Regions from separate parts of the Homo sapiens genome. Here all the other regions are linked to region 1. The links are contacts of gene promoters, found by promoter capture Hi-C in blood cells and fetal thymus (Javierre and others, 2016). All regions are on one chromosome and are shown on one strand. The core of a region is centred on a gene start or on the middle of the fragment in contact, and the rest is flanking DNA. Distances in the headings are between cores, read along the strand shown. Region 1 holds the start of SYTL2 (synaptotagmin like 2). Region 2 overlaps CCDC81 (coiled-coil domain containing 81). Region 3 overlaps LOC105369421 (a long non-coding RNA gene). Region 4 overlaps HIKESHI (heat shock protein nuclear import factor hikeshi).

Region 1 (6,060 bases), core at 2,170-4,669:
TGTTTAGCAAGAGTACAGCTTGACCCTGCATTTTCAACAGCAGCCCCATGGCCCAGCACTCATCTCTCCCACAAGATAAATACAGGGAAATTATGAGGGGTGAACTTCGGGGCTCACAAACAAGATTAACCTTCATGATGCTTTTAATTATTCATGATTTTTTCTCTACATTCTGTCAAAAACAATCTGAGATGGCTCTTAGCTCTGACAATAATTCAGTCAAAAGGGCTGTATTTGTGTGTGTGTTTTTAAAATTTGTTAATATAGATGCAAAGAAAAAGATTTGGAACGCTATATCCCAAGTTTTGCTTTAATTATTTGAGTATAGATGTATTTATATCATTATTATTATTATTATTATTTGAGATGGAGTCTTGCTCTGTCACCCAGGCTGGAGTACAGTGGCATGATCTCAGCTCACTGCAACCTCCGCCTCCCGGGTTCAAGAGATTCTCCTGCCTTAGCCTCCTGAGCAGCTGGGACTACAGGCGCATGCCACCACGCGCAGCTAAGTTTTGTATTTTTAGTAGAGATGGGGTTTCACTATATTGGCCAGGCTGGTCTCGAACTCCTGACCTTGTGATCCACCTGCCTCGGCCTCCCAAAGTGCTGGGATTCCAGGCATTAGCCACTGCACCCGGCCTGATATTATTATTAATGTTAATCTGGATCTTATATTTTTTTCTACAATGAATATGTTTAGTTTTGGTAATAAGAAAATAAAGGATATTTTTATTTTTAAAACATTCTTCATTCTGAAAAATGGGAAAAAAGTGGATGTCTCCCCAGGGACTAGAGAAGCTCTATTACTGTGAACCAGAGAGTGGAAAATTCAAACAGTAGTCTAAGCCCTCTAGAACCTTGGTCCTACTTCTCCATCTGGGTACTCGAAGCCCCTAAGAATATATAACAATCTGCCAGGACACCAGTTTTATTCAGATATTTTGAAGAAAAAACTTTATATTTTTAAATCAAAGTCCATATATTATGAAATCAAATGAAAAAAATTGCATAAGCACAGGAGCATGTGTTGGTCTTCTTTTCCATTGCAGGATCTTCTATGGAAAAGTTTGGTAAGCCCTAAGACAAACATTATAATCTTATCCCCCCAACTTTTGAGAGAGTGACAACCTCATTAATACCAAGTAAGTTTTCCTCTTAATTTAAAAAAAAAAAAAGCCACATTTTTCTTCATCTACTGTATGTTTAAAAATTCTTTGTAAAACAGGTGACAAGCAAACATATTTCCAGGGAGCTCTGGAAGCCTATACAGGCACAGTTCACCCTACCTCCCTTGCCCAAAGAGGAGAAACACCTAGACTAGCATCTGGGTTTTGAAGATGGTGGAACCTGGGCTTCCCCTAGGCTGCCTCACATTTCTACAAGGCAGCAGACCACTCTGCACAAGGTGCTAATTCATTCATTCCACAAATGTTTATTGAGCAAAACCTGAAAAAGGCCTCTTAGGGGACAGTGGAATCATTCACCAGCCAACGGTTAGGGCTAACGGGTCAGATGTGGACAATCAATCTTTCATTAGACCCCAAACCACCTCTAGGATAAAGCAAACAGGGCCCTGCCCCACCCACGCACTAGCAGCTGGGCAGGATTAGGGTAGGCCTTCTAGAACAGTACTGCTGCTGAGAGGCTAAGGCAGTCACAGATTACCTCCAGAATAACGGAAACTCCTGCACCATAAATGACATAATAGCTCTAAGATGTTTTGCATAGTGCCTGACACCTGGTGAGAACACAATGTTAGACATTTTTGCTCTCCTTATTCCAGCTTGCTCTTACTTAAGGAGCACAAAGACAGTGTAAAGAACACAGGTTTTAGAATCAGAGATTGGATTTGAATTCCAGCTATGCTACTTCCTAGCTAAGTGACTAAAGGAAGCAATCTTTCTGAGCCTGTTTCTCACCTATAAAATAGGGTATAGTACATCACCCCTCATGTGGCTTTGTGAGAATTAAGGATATATTACATACAAAGAAGTGTCTGGCCCATAGTAAGTGCCCACTAAACAGCAGTCAACATTGCCCTGCTGCCGTCCCCACACCTCTTCTCCTTCCTAGCTGCTCTTGATGGGTTCTGCAATCTGATTTCACCTGGATACCACACTAAGGGTGAGAAGGGGCAGAACTTCAGGGGTGGAGGAAAGTGAGGGAAGGGAAATGCTGGAGACCTTCCATAGAAATCCAGCCAAGTCCTCAGCTCCTTTCAATCATCCTACTCTATCTGGCTGCTCCATCCAGCAGACAGCAGGGGTCACCATCCTGGTGGGGAATGGCTGCCAACAAGGGGACGGGAAGCTGGATGGCAGTTTGCATCCACCCCACCTTCCAGGGTCTATCTGTCTGAAGCCCCACCGGGCTTCCTCTGCACATCCCTGCCGGGCTGTGTGGCTCAGGGGGCTGACAGGGTGATTCATAGCCTGTTCTTATCTAGGCTTCTATCTCAACCCTGCGCCCAAAGCCCTGGAGGCTGCTGGTCACAAACCAGCACTAAATGAAAAGAAGAACTTTTCATTAAGGCAGGAAGTGGAGCCCCTCAAGGTCAAAGGGGATTTATAAAGAGAGGAGGAAAGAAAGGGAAGACGCGGCAGGATGGGTGCAGAGAAAGAGAGACCCACTTCCTATATGCTGGTGGAGCCCTGTGTCTTAGACGCTAAAAACAGTCGCTTTTCCACTTCAAAGGATGATAAAGCCCACTCGTGTAGTTTATAGCTCGCCGTGGGACGAGGTGTGGGTATGGAAGAGAATTCCAAAACACGTCTTATTTTCAAAGGAGAAATCATCATCCCCTGGCCGGCCCTTCCCAACACCCCACCTGTAAACAGGTGCTGACGCTCCTACCTTTCTGCACCTGAGCAATCTGGGGGCAGTTACTCTGCAGCCAGGTCTCCCCAGCACCCAGCCCCAAGCCCAGGTCAGTCCCTGAAAGCCCTAGAAAACGCGATAGCTCAGCAGAACCCTCGCCTACCCGGGCATCCCAGCTTCCTGGCCGCCTGGGCAGCGGAGGTGGCTCTGGAGTAGGTGGGAAACTGAGGAAAGGAGCTTTCCCCGTGCCAAAACGCAGTTCCCATTTTAGAACTGGTTAGACTAAGGAACAACATTCTACACCACCTCCCTCACTTAACAGAGGAGGAAGCAGAGACCAAGAGAGGGAAACAAAGTTGCCCGAGGTAACACAGCGAGTGGGCCAAGTAGAGACTGGAACCCGAGTGCGCACCTCCGAGTCGCTGCCGGGCAGGGAGCGCGCCTCGCCGTCTCTCTTGTCTTCTGGCCCCCAGCCCTCGGCCTGGCGGTGCAAACCGCGCAGCCCCGGGCGCGGCGCGTTACCTTCCCCCGGGCAAGGCGTTGCGAGCCTTCACTCTCCCGACGGACGCTGGCGGCACGGCCCGGGTGTCGCCCGGCACTGTCAACGCAGAGCGGCGTGCGCGAGTCCCTCCCCGCTACCCCCGCCCCCGGCGGGCGGTGCGGTGGGGCCGGTCCCGGGTGCTCGGGCCAATGGCGCTTCGCCCGCTCCCCGCCCCGGCCCGCCCCGGCCTCCTCGCCCGGCACACAGCGCCTGCCAGCCCCTGCCCTCTCCCCTTCCCTCCCTTCGCCCTCCGCCCCCGCCTGCTGCTTCTCTCCGGTTCCTAGCCTCCTTCTCAAGTGTACCTTGCCCCGAAACAACCTGTTTTCTGTGCAAATAAAGCAGCACTGTTGTTATTGTTATTATTATTTTTATCACGGCGCGTTAGGGGGCCTTGGAGCCCGAGAGTGTGGAGCACTAGGAGCCTCTGCACTCCGAGAAGGGACAGCCACCGCGCAGGGAAAGGGGCGCGGAGGGTATGGAGCCCGGTCATGGGGTAACTTGCTTTAACCCTCGGGACGTCAATTTCCTCACATGTGAAATAGAAGAAGGGGGGAAAAAAGTTGTTGAGAGGACTAAATGAAGTGATGCTTTAAAATACAATAATACCTAGAGAAAGGTGAGGGCGTCATGCACTGCCTGAGCTACTTACTGGGGTATGCACAGAGGACTGGTAAGCTCCTGGAAGACGCTGTGTGGCAGGGAGGCAGACAATGCAATACAGTAAATACAATATTGTGGTCGGGCGCGGTGGCTCACACCTGTAATCCCAGCATTATGGGAGGCCGAGGCAGGTGGATAACCCGAGGTCAGGAGTTCGGGACCAGCCCGGCCAACATAGCAAAACTCTGTTCTAATTAGAAAAGAAAAAAGAAAAATTAGCTGGGTGTGGTGGCGAGCGCCCGTAGTCCCAACTACTTAGGAAGCTGAGGCAGGAGAATCGCTTTAACCCGAGAGGTGGAGGCTGCCGTGAGCCAAGATCGCACCACTGCACCCCATCCTGGGTGACAGAGCAAGACTCTGTCTCAAAAAAATAAATAAAATAATTTAAAAATTGTATCACGACCTATTTTTTACAAGTTACCCATGATGGGGCCAGCCCAGGCAAACCTCTGAAGGAGATGAACCTTAAAGCCTTTTTCCTTATCATTTCCTGGACTAGTGTTGTCCATTTAACTGAGGGTGGCCCAGGTCTGCCTTTGGTTCTTCCAAAGGTCTTCCTTCTCCCAAACTTACAAATACTTATCCCCAAGGGCTTCAGTTAGTGCCCAGTGCAGGCTGCTAGCCTGGCCCAAGAGTCCTGGCACTGTGCAGAGATGTGTATTCTGGCTTCCTTCAGCCTTTGAGAGCCTGGTGTGTCCCTGTGCTGGGTGAGCATGCCACATGCAAAAGAGGAATAAGCCACTGGTCTTGCCTTTGAAGAAACAAATTTGTAAATAATTTCATTTTAGGGTAAGTGTTATAATAGGTTGACAAAGTGTTGTAGAGTCACTACGCTGAAGGAGGGGGACAATAAAAAATACAAATGTGACCAAGGTAGGTCTTGAAGGAGGGCTACAAATTAGGTCAGATTGAAGGGGTGACAGAAGACTGGGCACAGAGAGGCAGGCAGAGACATGGAGATGCCTGTCATATGTCACGGCTATTGCACAGGATTTGGGACAATGAGGCAGAGATGAAGCTAAGGAGGTAGGTGGGCAGATGTTGGAGGAGTGGCTGTACCTGCCTTGCTGAGGGAAGCAGGCTGTGTCCTGTTGGTGATGGCTGTTGGCGAATGATTTTAGGCAGGGGAGTAGCGTGACCTCAGATGCTTTTGGTACTTCACTTTTATTGTTGATTGCACCTGCCTTGGTTATCCCCTTCCTGCCCCTCTCTAGCTCTGGAGGGCAGGCACTGGGTCTTGCTCACCTCTGGGTGCCTTGTATCATCTGGCATAGGACTTTGAAGGAACTAAATACATGCTGTTCCCAGTATCACTCGTCCCCTGGAAACAAATAGCAATGCCTAAATGCTAGAGAGGGTCACAGGATCCTTGCTTCAGGTTGTGGGGCAGGCAAGTGGGGGAGAAATTTTAAGGCAGGGTCTTGTTATGGCTCCCAATTCATCTAAATCTTGTATGGCTCAGAGACTAAATCTTAGAGCTCTTGGCCAAGATCCAAATGCTGTTAGAAATGTCAATTTCTAATAAGACCTTAGACCAATTACTCAACCTCCCTGTGCTTCAGTTTGCTCATTTGTTAGAGAGAAAATAATTGCACTGCTCTCTCAGGCCTACTGTGAAGATTAAAAGAAGATGCACATGTTTAGCATGATGCCTTGCACATACAGTGCACTGAAAAAGCCTTGGTTAACACGATCATATCAAGTCAGCAATGGCCTGTTCCACTTATCCCATAGGAACCCTTCAAAATGGTTTACATATAAGTGACACTTAAACTTTAGAGAATTCTAGGTTGACATTGAAGGGGAAGGCAAGAGGGTAGGGATAGCATGGTGTAAGGTTAAATGCACAGACTTTGGTGTATCTCCTGGCTCTACCACAGAACTCGCTGGTTGACTTTGGACAAGTCACTTAATTTCCTTCTTTCTCTGGGTGACTTTAGACAAGTCTCCTCCCTCCCTCCCTCCCTCCCTCCTTTCCTTCCTTCCTTCCTTCCTTCCTTCCTTTTTTGGCAGGGTCTCACTTTGTTGCCCAGGCAGTG
Region 2 (6,060 bases), core at 1,991-4,490, 570 kb after region 1:
AGAAATGCAGAGGAATGCAATGAATGAGGGGCAACTTGGAGGTAAAATCTACAGATTATGGTGATGGACTGGATGTTAGGGGTGAGGGATAAGAGAAGTCTCAAGGATGACTTCTGAGTTCCTGGCTCATATAACTGAATAGATAGTGGTGCCATTCACTGAGACCGAAATCCTGGATAAAAGACAAGATTTAAGAGAAGAAAGATTGCGGTTTTGGGCAAGTTGAAGGGCCTTTTTGTGATATATAAGCAGGCAGTTGGATAAACGGGTCCAGAATCTCAAAGAGGGGGTGGCAAGGAGTCTGGGTCTGTAAATAAACATTTGGGAATCATCCTGAGTGTGGGTGTGACTGCTGAAGTGGAGAGTATAGAGTGAAAAGAGAAGCAACCTAGGACTGTACCTTGAAAAACCCTACCATTTAATGGTTGGGTGGAGGAGGATAAGCCTGCAAGGGAGACTGAAGAAATGGCCAGACAGTTAGGAGAAAACCCAAATGAGAGTAGTAGTATAAAAGCCAAAAGGAGAGGTGCTTAAACGGGGAGGGAGTGATCAATAGTGTCAGACATGGCTGAGGGCTCAGAATTAAATACGTTTATTGAATGTATTGACAAAGAGACCATTGGTGACTTCAGCAAGAGCTGAAGTGAAAGTCAAACTACTATTTATTACCTTTCACAAATTATCTATTGCAACAAGGATGAAGATAAACTTCAAACTGAGCAAAACACATAAATTAACTTTCATCAGTGTATATATTCATCATTGTATATTCCTGCTGCTTCTGTATGTTTTAGCAAAGTTTAATATTATGTAATTATAGTTCTTAGAAGGCCCTGTCATCATTTTACAGATGTGAACTGGGTAAAAGTTGAGTCCATGGAAGCAGGAAGGCTGTGGGTCTTCCACGTAGCACACTGCTCTTTCCATTGCATTATGCTCTGGGAATATGTTTCTTTGTTCAAATCATCCTTTACTATTCTGCTATACTATTCCATATATCAGTATTTTAATTTTAGAAGATAAGTTTTATAACATCAGGAAACATATCTGTTTTTTGACATTAATGACTTTTTCAAGCATATAGTATTGTATAATTTACAGAACAGGCATGTAGGATTTTTAAATAATGATCATATGTAAGATACAGTATCCTGTTACTTGGCACGGTGTTTAAACATATGGTTTTGAGCGCATGGAATGTTAAGAATTTGAAGCCAAATGAAGGTTGAACTGAATATAGAGTATATGTCTAGGGATTAGTTCTTTATAAGAGTGATTCTTGGCATTTCAGTGTTTGATTGAAATAAGTAAGAACCCTGGCTTCCCTTAAAATATGAAAGTAGTATATCCTTCAATTTGCTTTTTAGACTTGATATTTTTCATTTTGAGATTTAATGATATCCTCTCTGACTCTTTGGGATGTCAGAAAACGTCAAATTTAGAAATTACAGTCTGTAAGCTTTCCAAATCTATTCCGATTGGATTGCAGGGGCCTAAAGCCTCCTAAGGCAAATGATATGCATAGTTTTCTTTCTCTTCAATGAGAAATAGCAAATTTTAGTTTAGAATAATTAGTTCTGCTCTTATGTAATGTTATCTGTTAGGCTTTATGGAATAAAACAGTACAGTGGGCTTGAATATATCATCCAAATGAAGAAAGACAGAATCCTCAAATTTTCAATTAAACTCAGCTGAGTCTTTTCACTGGGGTTTGGTTGCAAACTATACACTTTCTCCTGGCTCTAATGAAATCATTTCATCTTCAGTGTAGTTGTTTTCCTAAAATACGAGCTTTTAGAGGTGAAAGACTGTTAGAGTCATAAATTTAACAATTTTGACTTAATAACTTTGAAAGTTCTCCATGTACATCTGGATACTGAGATTTTGCATTTGTGAATTAATGAAATTTTTGGTCATGATGAAAGTTTTAATTCAGTATACAGTTAGGACTGGTTCTTAGTTCTTAGCAGCCTGTAGTAGAATCTATGGGCTGTGGGGGTGGGGAGGAGTGGGGAACAAGGTAGGGTGGGCAGAGTAAGGGAAATGCCTGATTATAGAAAGTGATTAATGAGGGGCAGAATCTTGGCCCTCGTGCTCACTGTAGCTTGCAGCCCTAATTTTATTAATGGGTGAGTGAGTTTCCATCACCAAACTTGTTCCCAGATAGTCATAAAAGTCATTGCTACTTCTCATCCACCAAACCTGCCCCTTTCCTGGCCTATTAATAAAAATATTTATAACTCTGATATACCAGAATTAAAAGATTGCACTCTCCGTGTTTTAGCTAGTGGTTTAAATTGTTAGAAAAAAGATAAACCAATAAACCAATAAAACAAGCAGTTTCCAAAGTGGAAAAAGGATTGGGCTTTTGTCACCAGCTGCATCTATGTCCCTAAATGGCAAGTTTGTTAATGTCACTGTTCTTGATTTTTTATTTTGAGAATTAAAACGTAACAGTCTTGATTTGCAGAGAGTTCTTAACTGGAAAGTATCTTTGATAAACACATGGTTAGGTCTGGAAGGGCGATGTTAACACAGATATAATTTTCTAGACTTTGAAATATTAGTCATACTACAGTATAGGTTCATATCATACATTAACACTTTCATTATTGGCAACTACCTATTTTTCTACCACACTTGTTTGGAACACAGCTCAGAACAAGAAGATAAACTTGGAAGGCTTTCCTCCAGTCAGTCAAAATTGATAGTGCCAAGTGTATGCATTAATTCAAAGTAAAGCTCCTTGTCCTACTCAAATGTGTGTTTTTAAAAAATTATTATTTGAGGCTGGGCATGGTGGCTCATGCCTGTAATCCCAGCACTTTGGGAGGCCGAGGCGGGTGGATCACCTGAGGTCAGGAGTTGGAGACCAGCCTGGCCAACATGGCGAAACCCTGTCTCTACTAAAAGTACAATTAGCCAGGCATGGTGGCTGGCGCCTGTAATCTCAGCTACTCGGGAGGCTGAGGCAGGAGACTCGTTTGAACCCGGGAGGCGGAGGTTGCAGTGAGCCGAGATCACGCCACTGCACTCCAGCCTGGGTGACAGAGTGATACCCTGTCTCAAAAAAAAAAAAGTTATTTTAGACATACTATTAGTATTTGTTATTTCCAGAACACAGTAGATAAGAAGCAATGAATTATGACTGGTCCAGGAGCCCACAGAGTACTAGTAGAGCAAGTGACAGCTGGTAGCTTAGCAGTGAAAAATGAGAATAAAATGCAGATTTGAGGATTTAGCAAAAATAGAAGTGTAGGAAAAGTTAATGTACACACAACAGCCTTTCACGCCTTAGTGGCCTTTTGCCTTATTCCTGTGTTGTGGAATGGTGTGAGAATGAACGTTCTTATTAATCAGATGGCACAGAATAGACACCCGATAAACGGTTGCTGGGTCATTAAGAAAAGGTTGGGTTATACTTGATTAACTCTCTTTACAGAATAAAGAAAAGGGTGTGACAGAGTTCCCTTTGCTGTAGAAATATTTTCTTTAAAAATGTATTATTATTATTATTTTAAATCACATCTTCTGAACTTAAGGGAGTAAGCCTTAGTTACCAAGAAAATTAACTTTTGGGAATGGCCTTGTTTTTTGTTAATTCTAAATTAATCAGGAATTAATGTCATTTGCTTCCACATTTCATATTTACATTTTTATTTATTAGCACTAAGATACTGTCACATGGGTGCGCATATAAATTGAATAATTTCTGGTTACTTTTGAATTTCAGAAGTCTCTATTATCTGGGGGAATGTATCAGAATTTGTGAGACGGCAGTTAACCCTGCACAAGGTAAGATTTATTAATTTATTAATTTATTAATAAATTAATTTATTAATTTTAATGTAGGCATCTAAAGGATCCTTCCTTCATAGTCTTATATAATGTTGCTGGGAGCAGGGCAGTAGACTTTAGAGCCATCCTGTTTAACTTTCAGTCCTATGTTTTTTGATGCTCATGTTCGGACTTGTGGGTAATAGATTTAACAAACATGAATTTTATTTTTAGGTAATGAATTTGTAAGTTCTGCTCTTCTAGTGTTACAGAGTGTAGTGCTGATCAGCCTGGGTGTGTGTAAGGAAACTAGATGAGTTCTGTTTGTCTGTGATCTGATAGTTCCTGGCATAGCTATAGAAGGATATAACGCTTCTTGTCTTGCCTCCTTGCAGGGAATGGATTTTAACTGAAATAGAAGACTTGCCAAAATGAGAAACTTTGCCTAGGGCTGGACTGTTCCCTCCTGTTAAGTCTTGGGTTTAGATGCCATAGAACTGGACAGAGATTTGGGGATGAGCTTGGGGGAAGCTGGGAAGTTGTGGAACTTTTATACCCCATTCAGAGGTCCTACTATGAGAGCTCTTGGGCAGAATTCATACTTCAAATTTATTTTGTTTTGTTTGAGAATTTGAATTTGTTATCAGCACTTAAACTTGGGAAAAATCATATAATGTTTTGGATTTTTTCCCTCCCTTTCATTGAAAAATCAGCAGATCTAACAGTACTAGTCTTCCATTGCTACGTGGTGACACATTTGGAGCTCAAGATGTGCTCTCCCCTTTAGACGGGGTGTGCAGTCCATAGCCATCACATTCCCTGGCTGGCTACTTTCACTCTCTTGCTTTCTTTTTTGGCTCCTGTAGGCATTTGAGTTTGTAGTTCTTGATGAATGATATCTCCAGGGAGACAGAAACCCAGTATGAGAGGCAAAAACATTTGCTTCTACTCATCAGCCAGGATCACTACATTGCAGCATATGATTTGGATGCTGGTTGTCTGCTGTGGCAGACATAAAATCTAAAAGTAGGAATGAGAAAGCAGAGATTCTCATGCCCTCTTAAATTCCTCTAATGGCAGATGATTAAAATTTAAAATGTCACACAATTTAGGACAGGAGTAATCTGGGTTAAAGATTAAAAGATGCTATGGCATTCACACCAATTTCTTAGCCTTTTGATGATACAGAGATGAGCGATCTGATGTCTGCAAATCATCATGGACCAATGTATTACATTTTATACTAAGCTTATTTGAAAACTTAGAATTATAAAATGCTATAGCTCTGAAGAGTCCTAGAGATCACTGAATTTTTAAGGCCTAAGCTTACTTCTCTTCGTGTTTTTTAGATAATAATATTAAGGATTATTTTTTCTTCACTCCTTCAATGAATTCTGTTTTGTTTTGTTTTTTCCTTTCAGGGGGTTCAGATTCCAGCATTTGGAACTTTCACTTTCATAAGACAAAAGCTTGAGGTGGGAAACAACAAATTTATCTTAATCCAGAGGCCTGTGTTTATCATGGTGGAGAAGCTAGTGCAGATTCATGGACTCAAACAAAACAAAGTATATACTCCTGGTAAATAATTCTGATATGTAGGATTTTCCCAGAAGGTTACTGTCCTGGGGATAAAAAATGAAAGGGCAAAGCGTAGCCAGTGCTGCTGTCTTACCTTCTTATTTGAGGAACTCACTTTTCACAAGGTGCTTTTGGCAGAGGGAGGGGCCAAAGTGGAAAAATAATAGAGTCTTCCTGAAGGCCATTTTAAACCCCAGTAACCTAAGAGGAAGGAGTGAAAAAACCTGATGTAACGTAAAGGAAAATTTATGTAAAAGCCACACCACAGAGCTGTAAGCCCTTTATTTCAGATCCTAAGAAATTAAAAGTGGTTACAAAGAAGAGAAAGTTAATTAGGATCTCTGGTTGGGAGAACTACAGTCAGTATCAGCTGTCAAAAAGATAACTGTCTTTCTATCATATGTATAATCCAAATCATTAAAATTTAAAAGTTAGAAGTTGAATAATTCTATAAAGACTTAATGCATACCTTATATACCTTTCGCATACCCTAAAGCCAACCTCCCTCCCTCCCTCCTTTCCTCCTTCCCTCCTTCCCTCCTTCCTTCCTTCCTTCCTTCCTTCTTCAAATATTTATTGAGAGCCAACTATGTGTCAGACCTTGTTCCAGGTGCTTGAGATATAGTGGTAAACAAAATAGGCATAATCCCTGCCACAGACTGCTTCCATCCAGCTTTAGTGTGTGGGCTTCGTAACACCTCCCTT
Region 3 (6,060 bases), core at 1,663-4,162, 540 kb after region 1:
GAGGATTCCTAAGAATCATTGGTTTAAGGTCTCCTGATGGAGTGGTTGTTTAGCTGTCTGGAGAAGGTACTTGTCATTTAGTTGGGAAACATAAACCCAGTGATCATCATCTTGGAGTTTACTGCCATGCTAGTTGTTACAGTATCTGCTGAGCTAATTTTTCACTGAGGCCAGTTTTTCCCTGATGTCTCTTCCAGAAGACTAAGTTTGCTGATAGTTGAGGATGTTGCAGACAATGATGTTTTTCTAGATTAGAGAAGAGTGGAATCCACTATTGAGGAACAATACAATTTATAAAATGATTATGAGAGTACAACATATTATGGACAATATTCAGTGATAATTCTCTTGGTCTGTAATCTCGTAAAGTATATCTTTTTGCAGACAGTTATTGTGTTAGTCTTTACATGAACATGAGCATGTTTCTTTTTACCTGAAATGAAACACTGAAACATTTTTATTCACAAATTTTACCTGGCATAATTAACAGGAGAAGGCTAATCTCTTGATTTGTTAAGTTTTCTTTTTTTCTTTTAAGTTTGATTTTTTTTAAAAAAAAAGTCTTAAAATGATTGGGGATTAATTAAAATTTGTAGAGTGCCAAACAAACCTAATTTTTCCTATTGTCTTTTCTTCCATAATGTGAAGGAAACCTGAAGAGTTCAGGCATAAAAGACATCTTCATAGTCTTACTGTGCCTGAATTTGGGAAAGGCCAAAATTATAAAGAGTTGTCAGAGGAGAGAAGATATGAATATTAGTCAAAAATATATAAAGGTGGCTGGGCATGGTGGCTCACGCCTGTAATCCCAGGACGTTGGGAGGCCGAGGTGGGTGGATCACTTGAGGCTAGGAGTTCAAGACCAGCCTGGCCAATATGGTGAAAGCCCATCTTTACTAAAAACACAAACATTAGCCGGGCATGGTTGTGCATGCTTGTAATCCCAGCTACTCCAGAAGCTGAGGCAGGAGAATCACTTGAACCCAGGAGGTGGAGGCTGCAGTGAGCCGAGATGGTGCTACTGCACTCCAGTCTGGGTAACAGAATGAGACTCAGTCTCAAAAAAAAAAATTTTTTTTAAATTAAAGAATTTAATTTTTAAAAGATTTATTGAGATATAATTCATATTCCACACAGTTAACCCATTTACAGTTAACCCATTTAAAGAGCCAGGTGCAGTGGTGCACAGCTGTAATCTCAGCTACTCTGGAGCCTGAAGTGAGAGAATTGTTTGAGCCCAGGAATTCAAGACCAGCCTGGGCAACAGCAGAGACCTTGTCTCAATTGAATGAATGAATGCTTTTTAGTTTAGTCTCAGATTTGTGCAAATGTCATCACAATCTAATTTTTATTCCTCCAAAAGGAGCCTCATATCCATTAGTAGTTAATCCCCATCTCCCAGCTTCTAGTATCCCTAAGCCACCACTAATCTTTTTGTGTCTGGATTTGCCTTTTCTGGATATTTTATATAAATGGAATCAGAGAGAGTGGTCTTTTGTGACTAGCTTCCTTCACTTAGCATAATGTTTTCAAGATTATTCCATGTTGTAGCATGTATCTGTACTTCATTTCTTTTTATCTTTTTTCTTTTCAATTTTTTGAGACAGGATCTCCCTCTGTTGCCTAGACTGGAGTGCAGTGGTGCGATCACGGTTCACTACAGCCTCGACCTCCCAGCCTCAAGTGATACTCTCACTTCAGCTTCCCGAGTAGCTGGGACTAGAAGTGCGCACCACCATGCCCAGCTAATTTTTTTTTTTTTGGTATTTTTTGTAGAGATCTAGTCTCACTCTGTTGTCCAGGCTGGTCTTGAACTCCTGTGCTCAAGGGATCCACACACCTCAGCCCCCTGAAGTGCTGGGATTATAGGCATGAGCCACTGTGCCTGGCTAGGAGTTTATTATAGATACAAGTCTCTTAAAAATAGGATTTGCAAATATTTTCTTCTGTGAGTTATCTTTTCACTTTCTTGTTGATATCATTTGCAGTACAAAAGTTTTTAATTTTGATGTAATTCAGTTTATCTTTGTTTTTCTTTTCTTGTTTCTGTTCTTGGTGTTATATCTAAGAAACGATTGCCTAATTCAAGGTTGTGAAGACTGACTCCTGTGTTTTCTTCTAAGAGTTTTATAGTTTTATCTCTTTCATTTAGGTCTTTGATTCATCTTGAGTTAATTTTTGTGAATGGTAAATGAATATGCACATTCTTTTGCGTGTGAATATCCAGTTTTCCCAACATCATTTGTTGAACCGTTAGTCTACATTTGAACCATATCAAGTTAATTTTGGTGCACAAACATAAAAGATAAAAGAATATGTGACTAGGATTATTAGGTATTTTAGTTTTTCCAAATTAGTATTTTAGCTTTTTTAAAAAATGACTTAATATGTCAAAATGCTTAGTGATAGAATGTTACAGTGATAGAAGAAATCTTTGTTATCTCACCAGAGATAGCTTTGCTGTTTTATCAGAAAGAAAATCCAGATTATAGTTTTACTCTTGTTACTTGTCTTCTATTTAACAATATGTAGTAATGGCTTCATAAGCCTTTCTTCCTGTGAATACATCCATCACATTTAACCAGCTTCGTCAAAAATTTTGACACATTTATTGATCCTTTCCAACCCCTAACTTGTCAAATACAGTTTACTCCTCAGAACTTCTACACTCTCTGAATACTTTTTTTCTGAGATGAAATCTCACTCTGTCTCCCAGGCTGGAGTGCAGTGGTGTGATCTCAGCCCTCCTGAGTTCAAGTGATTCTCCGGCCTCAGCCTCCTGAGTAGCTAGGATTACAGGTGTCTGCCACCATGCCTGGCTAATTTTTGTATTTTTGGTAGAGATGGGGTTTCACCATGTTGGCCAGGCTGGTCTCGAACTCCTGACCTCAAGCGATCCACCCACCTCGGCCTCCCAAAGTGCTAGGGTTACAGATGTGAGCCACCGCGCCCGGCCTGAATACTCTTAAGTTTAAAAAATACTCTTCAAATGGTATTTCTAGTTCTAGATCCCTGAGGAATCGCCACACTGACTTCCACAATGGTTGAACTAGTTTACAGTCCCACCAACAGTGTAAAAGTGTTCCTATTTCTCCACATCCTCTCCAGCACCTGTTGTTTCCTGACTTTTAAATGATCTCCATTCTAACTGGTGTGAGATGGTATCTCATTGTGGTTTTGATTTGCATTTCTCTGATGGCCAGTGATGATGAGCATTTTTTCATGTGTTTTTTGGCTGCGTAAATGTCTTCTTTTGAGAAGTGTCTGTTCATATCCTTCACCCACTTTTTGATGGGGTTGTTTGTTTTTTTCTTGTAAATTTGTTTGAGTTCATTGTAAGGATTATAAATCATGCTGCTATAAAGACACATGCACACGTATGTTTATTGCAGCACTATTCACAATAGCAAAGACTTGGAACCAACCCATATGTCCAACAATGATAGACTGGATTAAGAAAATGTGGCACATATACACCATGGAATACTATGCAGCCATAAAAAATGATGAGTTCATGTCCTTTGTAGGGACGTGGATGAAGCTGGAAACCAGCATTCTCAGCAAACTATCACAAGGACAAAAAACCAAACACCGCATATTCTCACTCATAGGTGGGAATTGAAAAATGAGAACACATGGACACAGGAAGGGGAACATCACACACTGGGGCCTGTTGTGGGGTTGGGGGAGTGGGGAGGGATAGCATTAGGATATATACCTAATGCTAAATGATGAGTTACTAGGTGCAGCACACCAACATGGCACAGGTATACATATGTAACAAACCTGCACGTTGTGCACATGTACCCTAAAACTTAAAGTATAATAATAAAAAAATACTCTTCTAGGCTAGCATAACCAGACTCTCCTTAAGGTAAAATAATTCTTTTTTACTTAGATAAATAAAATTCATTACCTTGCATACACATCCCATTACCTATCCACATTTAAAAAATATCTTCAAAACAAGTATTCACATCAACATAAAGCCATCTATACATCCTTTTTAACCTGGTAGCTAACAGCTACACCAGTTATTAAAGCACATATGTCATAAAATTGTCCAGTTTTCCAAGGTTACTTACAAAAGAATATTCATATCCTTAAAGTTAACTAAGGATCTGGAAATCACAAATGAAGCTGACACAGGAAGTCCTTATGGTTGTAGCTTAAGAATTAACAAATTTAGAATCTTTTAAAAGACATTTGTTATAAGTCCATTTTGTTAAACACAACTTGAGCTTTTTGTAATAAATAATTTGTGGAAAAGAGATAACACTTAAAACCTATATAAAAATTTAAGTTTAAATATGGAATAAAAGTCATTTATATACATTTTCTGACTTAAACATTCATTAAAACAGTTTCATGACCTGCTATTTCTCCTTTTCCATTTAGAGCCTGTGGTGGACAGATATGTATGAGATAATATGAGACATCACTAAATTCAGCTTTTTTTGTGTGTGTTTAATGGATAAAAGAACTAACATTTCTAAGCAAGAACAGAAGTTTTCTTAGATCTCAATAGCATTAGCCAATTGGCTTTATTTTTCCAAAGAAACAAAATAAGAAAAAATTATGTGAGCATCTGTTTTTTCTTCAGTGATGCACAGAGAACCACAAAATTGCATTATAGTGTAGTGGATAAGGTTATGGCCTCTAGAGTCAGGTAGCTTGTGTTCAAAATTTGGCTATACCATTTACTTACTGTTTTGATCTTATCAAGTTACTTCGCCTCTCTGTGTCATAGTTTCTTCATCTGTAAAATGAATTGACCACAGTATATATCTTTGAAGTTTGTTATAAGGAATAAACTTACCTAAAACTTTTAGAATAATGCCTGATACATTCTTAGTGCTCAATAAGTATTGGAAATCAAATTGTTGAAGTATATCATATTTGATATCAGCCAGGGTCACTCACTGGCCAAGTAACCCACCACATACCAGCATCAAAGATCAATTAAAATTGTCATATTCCTTTGGGGCTGCTTTTGAATGATAAAATGTCTGATAACTATTTGTACACTAGGTATGTATTATATTTCTAAAAGCCTAAAGAGAACTGCATAAACAATAGGGTTGCATAGTATAACAAAGCATTTGTTTCTTGTTTGGAATTTTATTTTATTTTTTGAGATGGAGTCTCACTCTGTTGCCCAGGCTGGAGTGCAGTGGCGCGATCTTGGCTCACTGCGACCTCCACCTCCTGGGTTCAAGCAATTCTCATGCCTCAGCCTCCTGAGTAGCTGAGATTATAGGCATGAGTCACCACGCCCAGCTAATTTTTGTATTTTTAGTAGAAACGGGGTTTCACCATGTTGGCCAGGCTGGTCTCGAACTCCTGATCCCCCTGCCTCGGCCTCATCTTCTTTGGAATTTTATTTTCTTGTGGCTTGGGTACTTGGAGTTTGGGAAAAAATGAAAAAGACAGTGGAGACGAAAATCCTTCAAAAGCTGAGGGTCACTAGGGAGAAATTGAAAAGGAAGAATAGACAATCTGAATAGGACTATATCTACTAAAGAAATGGCATCAATAGCTAATCTTCCCAAACAGAAAGCATTAGGCCAAGATAGGTTTGCTGCTGAATTCCACCAAACATTTAAGGAAGAAATTTTTCCAATTCTCTACAATATCTTTCAGAAGTTAGGAGAGGGAGTCCTTCCTTCCTAACTCATTCTATGAAAAACTAGGACCTAAAAGTAGTCAAATTATGAGTAGATAAATTTTACTTTAAAAGTGAAAAATTACTATTTATTTATTTAGAGACAGAGTCTCGCTCTGTCGCCCAGGCTGGAGTGCAGTGGCATGATCTCGGCTCACTGCAAGCTCCACCTCCCGGGTTCACGCCATTCTCCTGCCTCAGCTTCCCCAGTAGCTGGGACTACAGGCGCCCGCCACCACGCCCGGCTAATTTTTTTGTATTTTTAGTAGAGACGGGGTTTCACCGCATTAGCCAGGATAGTCTCGATCTCCTGACCTCATGATCCGCCCGCCTTGGCCTCCCAAAGTGCTGGGATTACAAGCATGAGCCACTGCGCCCAGCCTGAAAAATTATTT
Region 4 (6,060 bases), core at 1,993-4,492, 520 kb after region 1:
TAGGGCCAGGTGCAGTGGCTCACGCTTGTAATCCCAGCACTTTGGGAGGCCGAGGCGGGCGCATCTTTGAGAACAGGAGTTCGAGACCAGCCTGGCCAACATTGTGAAACCCCATGTCTACTAAAAATACAAAAATTAGCTGCACATGGTGGCACACACCTGTAATTTCAGCTACTCAGGAATATGAGGCAGGAGTATCACTTGAACCTGGGAGGTAGGGGTTGCAGTGAGCTAAGGTCACACCACAGCACTCCAGCCTGGACAACAAAGCTAGACTCTGTCTCAAAAAGAAAAGAAATTACCCAGATAATGAAACCAGTTCAGAATGGTTAAGTGACTGTTACTGCCCTCCCTCCCCCGCCACATTAGGGTGTAAGCTCTTTGAGAATAGGGATGTTTTATATCTTTTATTTTGTGCTCTATAGAGGACAGTGATGGACTTTAGATACTTTGCTTCATTAAGTACCTTTCAGACATACTATGGTATCAGATAAATTATATTTTTATCTAGTGTAAAATTACTGATAAGCCTTTGAGAGTCACATAGCTCTTAGAATATACATTAGTGAAAATGTAATTTCAGGTTTGTCTAGGTATCAATAGAAATGAAGCAGGGAGTTTTTAGAAATACATATTTCTAAATTTGTATATTCAATACTAGGAATGCTTTCAAGCAGGCATATTTAAGTTGTTTCTGTGTAGTTTTTTAGCTATGTCATCATAGTGAAATGCTACTGCATAGTGAATTCCTTCCTTTTGCCATAACTGTTTTCTTTTCTTTTTTTTTTTTTTTTGCGACGGAGTCTTGCTCTGTCGCTCAGGCTGGAGTGCAGTGGCACTCCGCCTCCTGTGTTCATGCCATTCTCCTGCCTCAGCCTCCCGAGTAGCTGGGACTACAGGCGCCTGCCACCATGCCCAGCTAACTTATTTTTATTTTTTTTAGTAGAGACGGGGTTTCACAGTGTTAGCCAGGATGGTCTCGAGCTCCTGACCTTGTGATCTGCCCGCCTCGGCCTCGCAAAGTGCTGGGATTACAGGCGTGAGCCACCGTGCCCGGCCCGTAACTGTTTTCTTTAGTCCTCATCTCTTTGCTGCTATGCACACTTACAGACATCTCAACCAGTGGACTTTTAATTTTTAAATTTCCCTTTTGAGCATTTTTACCCATTAGAAGGATTGGTACTTCATGAGTTTTATTCTTTTGTAGAGGTCTTAAAGAACAGAGAGGAAAAAAAAATAAAGAATAGAGATAACATTTACTTACATGTTTTTTAATAGAATAAAACTCATTTTATCTTGCAATTACCATATGGACCACTTTGTAAATCTAAGAAGCATTTGGGGATATTACTGGTCTTACTTTACCTATATATTGAAGCATTTTGTTATTTCATCCAGGAAATTATTTTATCAGTACTCATCAAAACTATACTTACAAAAAGGGGGCTAAAATAAAAAAAGAAAAATGTTGGAATTAGCTAGAGTAGAAGTTGGCAAACTTTTTTGTGAAGGATCAGTTAGAAAATATTGTAGGCATTGTGGGCTACATTTGATCTCTGTGGCATATTATTCTTAAACAACCCTTTAAATATTTGAAAACCATTCTTAGCTCCCACGTCATACAAAATAGGTTGTGGGACCGATTTGGCCTGTGGGCCTTGGTTTGTCATTGCATTAACCTACAATTTTCATGTTGCATTGCCCAAAAGATTATGCCACCTTTTAAGTAATATAAAAGGAGACTGGAGACACCATCTTTATGGTCTCTTTTTAGCTTTTATTGAACAGAATGTAAATTCATACTTTTAAATATTTTGTTCATAATGGCAAAGAGAAGAAAATTGACAGAGGAAGAAGTTTCACAATTATTAGACAAATCAGAAAATGAATACTGAAAGGTAAATTCTACACTGATGACGATGGTAAAGTGGATCATATAAGCAAAATTACCTACTATGAATCTTCAAATAAGATCTCATTATCTGAGTTTTCTCAACTAAAAATTTGATGATTGAACAATGTATTTTTAAGGATCAAGAGAAAATATGAGGCCGGGTGCGGTGGCTCATGTCTGTAATCCCAGCACTTTGGGAGGCCGAGATGGGTGGATCACTTGAGGTCAAGAGTTCCAGATTGGCCTGGCCAACATGGTGAAACCCCGTCTGCACTAAAAATTTGAAAATTAGCCGGTGTGGTTGCACAGGCCTGTAATCCCAGCTACTCGGGAGGCTGAGGCATGAGAATTGCTTGAACCCAGGAGGCGGAGGTTGCAGTGAGCCAAGATCGTCCTACCGCACTCCAGCCTGGGCAACAGAGTGAGACTCTGTCTCAACAACAACAACAACAAACAAACAAAAAAAAAAAAGAAAAGAAATATGGTATTCTACTCAGTCATTTAAGAAGAAGGAATTTCTCACATAATATTTTGTCATGGACAAGTAGTAAAGGATGTGTTCTGCTATTCTTTTATCTCTTATATTTGTGTTCCAAAATAGACTGGATATGGTTTTATAAATAGACAAATGCTGAAAGCAGGGGTGTATAGAGAAGTGATTGGAAGGAAATAGGTATAGGAATGAAAAAAAAAATAATTGGCTTGATCATTCTAAATAATGGTTATAAATCTAAAAATGAAAATATTTTGCAAAATGTAGATCAGAGGATAGCCATCCTTCAACAAATTATGAGCCGTTAAAGGTTTCAAAACTTCAAGCTTTCAGGTATTATATTATGGCAATGTAGATGCCAAAAAAAGAACAAGATACAACCATAAGCTATAACTTTATTAATAGATATCTGACTTATGAAATTTATAAAATGGATGTGTTCCATAAGACGCATGTGTTCCATGTTTATCCATGATGGTTGATGGGCAGTTGTATTCACAGGACATAGCCCATTTCAGCTATATCTTAAAAACAAGGAAAATGTGGAATGACTATCTGGATTTGCTGTACTTAAATACTTAGAAAAAATCTAATAAAGTTGTTTTCCACTATTTCCTGATTCTTCTCAACATTCTTTGTAAAATATGTGTGTGTGTGTGTGTGTGTGTGTGTGTGTGTGTGTAAAGTTTCCATTAGATGCAAATAACAAATGATGGTGACTGCTTTTCCTTGTATACTGAGAATAAAGAACTAGCTCCCTGTAGGAATTTTTCCTCTGAGTTGTGTTTTGTGTTAGGCTCTTGATTTACATGGAGGAGGGATGCTTTGAGAAAGAGTCTTAAAAAAAATTAGCTGCTGCATTTACTGTTAACAGTGTTTTAAAGAACTTGATCTAATTTACATTTGTTTTTTATATTAAGACTAGGTCATATATTTTGCTTGCTCTTCTTTGTATTATGATTTATAATTTATTATTTTTGCATCTATTTGATGATATGCTTTGATAATGATATGTTTTCTGGATTTTAGCATAATTCTAGATTTAAAAGAAATCAAACGGTAGAGTAAGGAGCTCCAGAAAATCCAGTCTTCCATAAAAGCAACAACAACACTGTCAGAAGATCACAGCTCACTGTAGTCTCGATCTCCTAGGCCTAAGCGATCCTCCCACCTCCACCTCCCAAGTAGCTAGGACCACAAGCATGCACCACCTCGCCTGGCTAACTTTTGTAGAGATGGGGTCTCCCCATGTTGCCCAGGCTGGTCTCAAACTTCTGGGCTCAAGCAGTCCTCCTGCCTCAGCCTCTGAAAGTGTTGGGATTACAGGATATGAGCAACTGTGTCTGACCCAGAATCAACTTTTTTGGAACTCTGGTAACTAACCAAAAGCTTGTAGCAATCAGGGGAACATTTAATCAAGAAAATACACTGAATCTCAGTAAGAACAGTGAGCTTTGTGGCATTTGGCTACCCTTGTCCCATCTGCTTCTCAGCTCAGTGATAGCCTTGAAAATAACAGACTCCATTCCTGGTACTGATATAGGGAGCAGGATAGACCTAATTCAGAAAGAATTGTAATTAACTTGTTTTCATCTGTCTGGTGGCTTGCTAGAAGACTGTTTAAAAAAAAAGAGGTCTGCCTTTATGTCACCTAACTTGGAACTCTTCATGGAAAAGTATCTACCTTGGGGGTGTTTGTTAAAAGTATTTACAGACATATGTTTTAGCTACTGTTGCCCGAGGCAAAGGAAAACAGTTGGAGTAAACCAAAACTAACCAGAAAGGTTGGGAATGAGATGCTTTGGGGAATGAGGGCTTTGAAATTCTCTGACATATTCTTGGTAATCTAGAAGGGTACGTGCATTCCCAGAGCTTTGTGCATGCTCAGGAAAGACCCGCGAAGACCCAGAGCTCTCTCTTCTGGCTCACTTTAAGTCTCCGCACAAGCAGGAAGTGAAGACTAAGGTGGAGTTATAAACTGCCTGGCTGAATACTAAAGGCATGTCCCAACACGCAGAGCCCATCTGCAAAGACTGGCAGAATTTTTTGGTTGCAGAGGTTTAAGGAAATTTCTTTCTAATCACTAGCAGACTACTAACTAATGGAACAGAGACTTCACTGGCCACACATAACAAAGAAACAGACTTTACAAAATTAGTTCAGATAAGTCATTAAATGAGGAAACAACTACAATAAACAGCAACAACAAACCCCTAGAAGGTGGAAACATCTGATTTATAGCGTCGTCACATTGTAATATTCAAAATGTCCAGTTTTCTACAAAAAATTATGAAACATACAAAGAAACAAAGTAAGGCTCTTATACAGAGGAAACGAACAGAAACTTCCCCCAGGGAAGCACAGGCAAAGACTTTAAGTAAGCTGTCTTTATTATGCTCAAATTGCTAAAGGAAACCAGAAGAATGATACATCATCAAATAGAGAATATCAATATAGAAATTATAGAAAGGAACTAAACAGAGTTTATAGCTGAAAAGTACAGTAACTGAATGGTTCACTAAAGGGCTTAGATAGCAGAATTGAGTAGACAGAAGAAAGAATCAGTGAAGTCGAAGATAAATTAATTGGAATATCCAGTTTGAAGAGCAGACCCTTAGAGACCTGTGAGACACCCTCAAGTGCACCAACATGCACAGCAGACACAGTGTAATGAGAGTAACATATGGAAAGGCGGGAGGGCTGGAAAGAATATTTGCTCTGGTCTGAATGTTTGTGTCTTTTTATATGATGAGGTCTTTTAAATTTATATGCTGAAATCCTAACCCCCAAGGTATTGGGAGGTAGGGACTTGGATGGTGACTGGGTCATGGGAGTAGAGCCCTCATGAATGGGATTACCACTCTTAGAGTAATAAGAAGATCACTTGCCCTACTACCACGTGAGAACACAGTGAGAAGGCACTGTCTGAACCAGAAAATGGTCCTTCACCAGATACCAAATCTGCCGGTTCCTTGATCTTGGACTTCCCAACCTCCAGAACTGTGAGAAATAAATTTCCGATGTTTATAAGCTACCCAGTTTATGGTGTTTTGTTATAGCAGCCTGAACAGACTAAAACAATATTTAAATAAATAATGCTCAGAAACTTCTCAAATTTGAGGAAAAACATTAACCACATTTAAGAAGCTCAAGAAACTCCAAGTAGGATAAACTACACCAAGACACACGATAATCAAACTGTCAAAAGGTAAAGAGAGAATGTTGAAAGCATCAAGAGAAGTAACTCATCACATGCAAGGATCCTTGCTAAGATTAATAGCTGATTTCTCATCAGAGACCCCATAGTCTTCTAGACGGTAGTGGATTGGCATATTCAGAGTTCTGAAAGGAAAAAAAAAAAAGCCATCAACCAGGAATTATATACTCAGCAAAACTGTCTTTAGAGATGAAGGAGAAATACTTTCCTAGATAAACAAAAACTAAGTCATTGCTGGCAGACCTGCTCCATAAGGAATGCTAAAGGGAGTCTTCTCTATTAATTATTTATTTTTCCCACACTCTGTTACTGTCTGTGTCTAGTTGCAGTAGTTTCAATACATTTCAGAAATGTGACAGCTATTTTTCTGGTGGGAAACTTTTAGTTCTTTTATTCTTTGTTAATATGCTAAAAACGAAGTAGGCTTTTGCATTTATCTGAAAAGAGGGACAAACT

Evidence for each region. Contacts are between HindIII fragments. The CHiCAGO score rates a contact against its expected background, and 5 or more counts as called.
Region 2: a fragment that was not itself captured here is called in contact with the fragment with the promoter of SYTL2 in region 1 in 1 of 17 cell types (neutrophils); the score reaches 5.5 in neutrophils.
Region 3: a fragment that was not itself captured here is called in contact with the fragment with the promoter of SYTL2 in region 1 in 1 of 17 cell types (neutrophils); the score reaches 5.2 in neutrophils.
Region 4: a contact is called between a fragment that was not itself captured here and the fragment with the promoter of SYTL2 in region 1, in 1 of 17 cell types (monocytes). The highest score is 6.3, in monocytes.

What each region holds. Positions count from the first base shown.
Region 1 is chr11:85,807,722-85,813,781 of GRCh38, forward strand. SYTL2 (synaptotagmin like 2) reads right to left here and starts at 3,420. Exons shown (of 20, transcript NM_206927.4): 1 at 3,233-3,420. RefSeq lists a silencer at 3,379-3,558. The HindIII fragment of the contact is 7,624 bases long and covers 1-6,060 here.
Region 2 is chr11:86,382,318-86,388,377 of GRCh38, forward strand. CCDC81 (coiled-coil domain containing 81) reads left to right here. Exons shown (of 15, transcript NM_001156474.2): 2 at 3,734-3,795; 3 at 5,199-5,355. LOC105369421 (a long non-coding RNA gene) reads right to left here. Exons shown (of 5, transcript XR_007062826.1): 2 at 5,450-5,556. Among named protein-coding and RNA genes, the nearest start is that of CCDC81, 10 kb to the left of the region's middle. The HindIII fragment of the contact is 3,566 bases long and covers 1,458-5,023 here.
Region 3 is chr11:86,348,275-86,354,334 of GRCh38, forward strand. LOC105369421 (a long non-coding RNA gene) reads right to left here. Exons shown (of 5, transcript XR_007062826.1): 4 at 4,709-4,759. Among named protein-coding and RNA genes, the nearest start is that of CCDC81, 24 kb to the right of the region's middle. The HindIII fragment of the contact is 9,507 bases long and covers 1-6,060 here.
Region 4 is chr11:86,331,205-86,337,264 of GRCh38, forward strand. All of the region lies in intron 2 of HIKESHI (heat shock protein nuclear import factor hikeshi), which reads left to right. It overlaps LOC105369421 (a long non-coding RNA gene), which reads right to left. Exons shown (of 5, transcript XR_007062826.1): 5 at 4,760-5,729. Among named protein-coding and RNA genes, the nearest start is that of HIKESHI, 32 kb to the left of the region's middle. The HindIII fragment of the contact is 1,063 bases long and covers 2,712-3,774 here.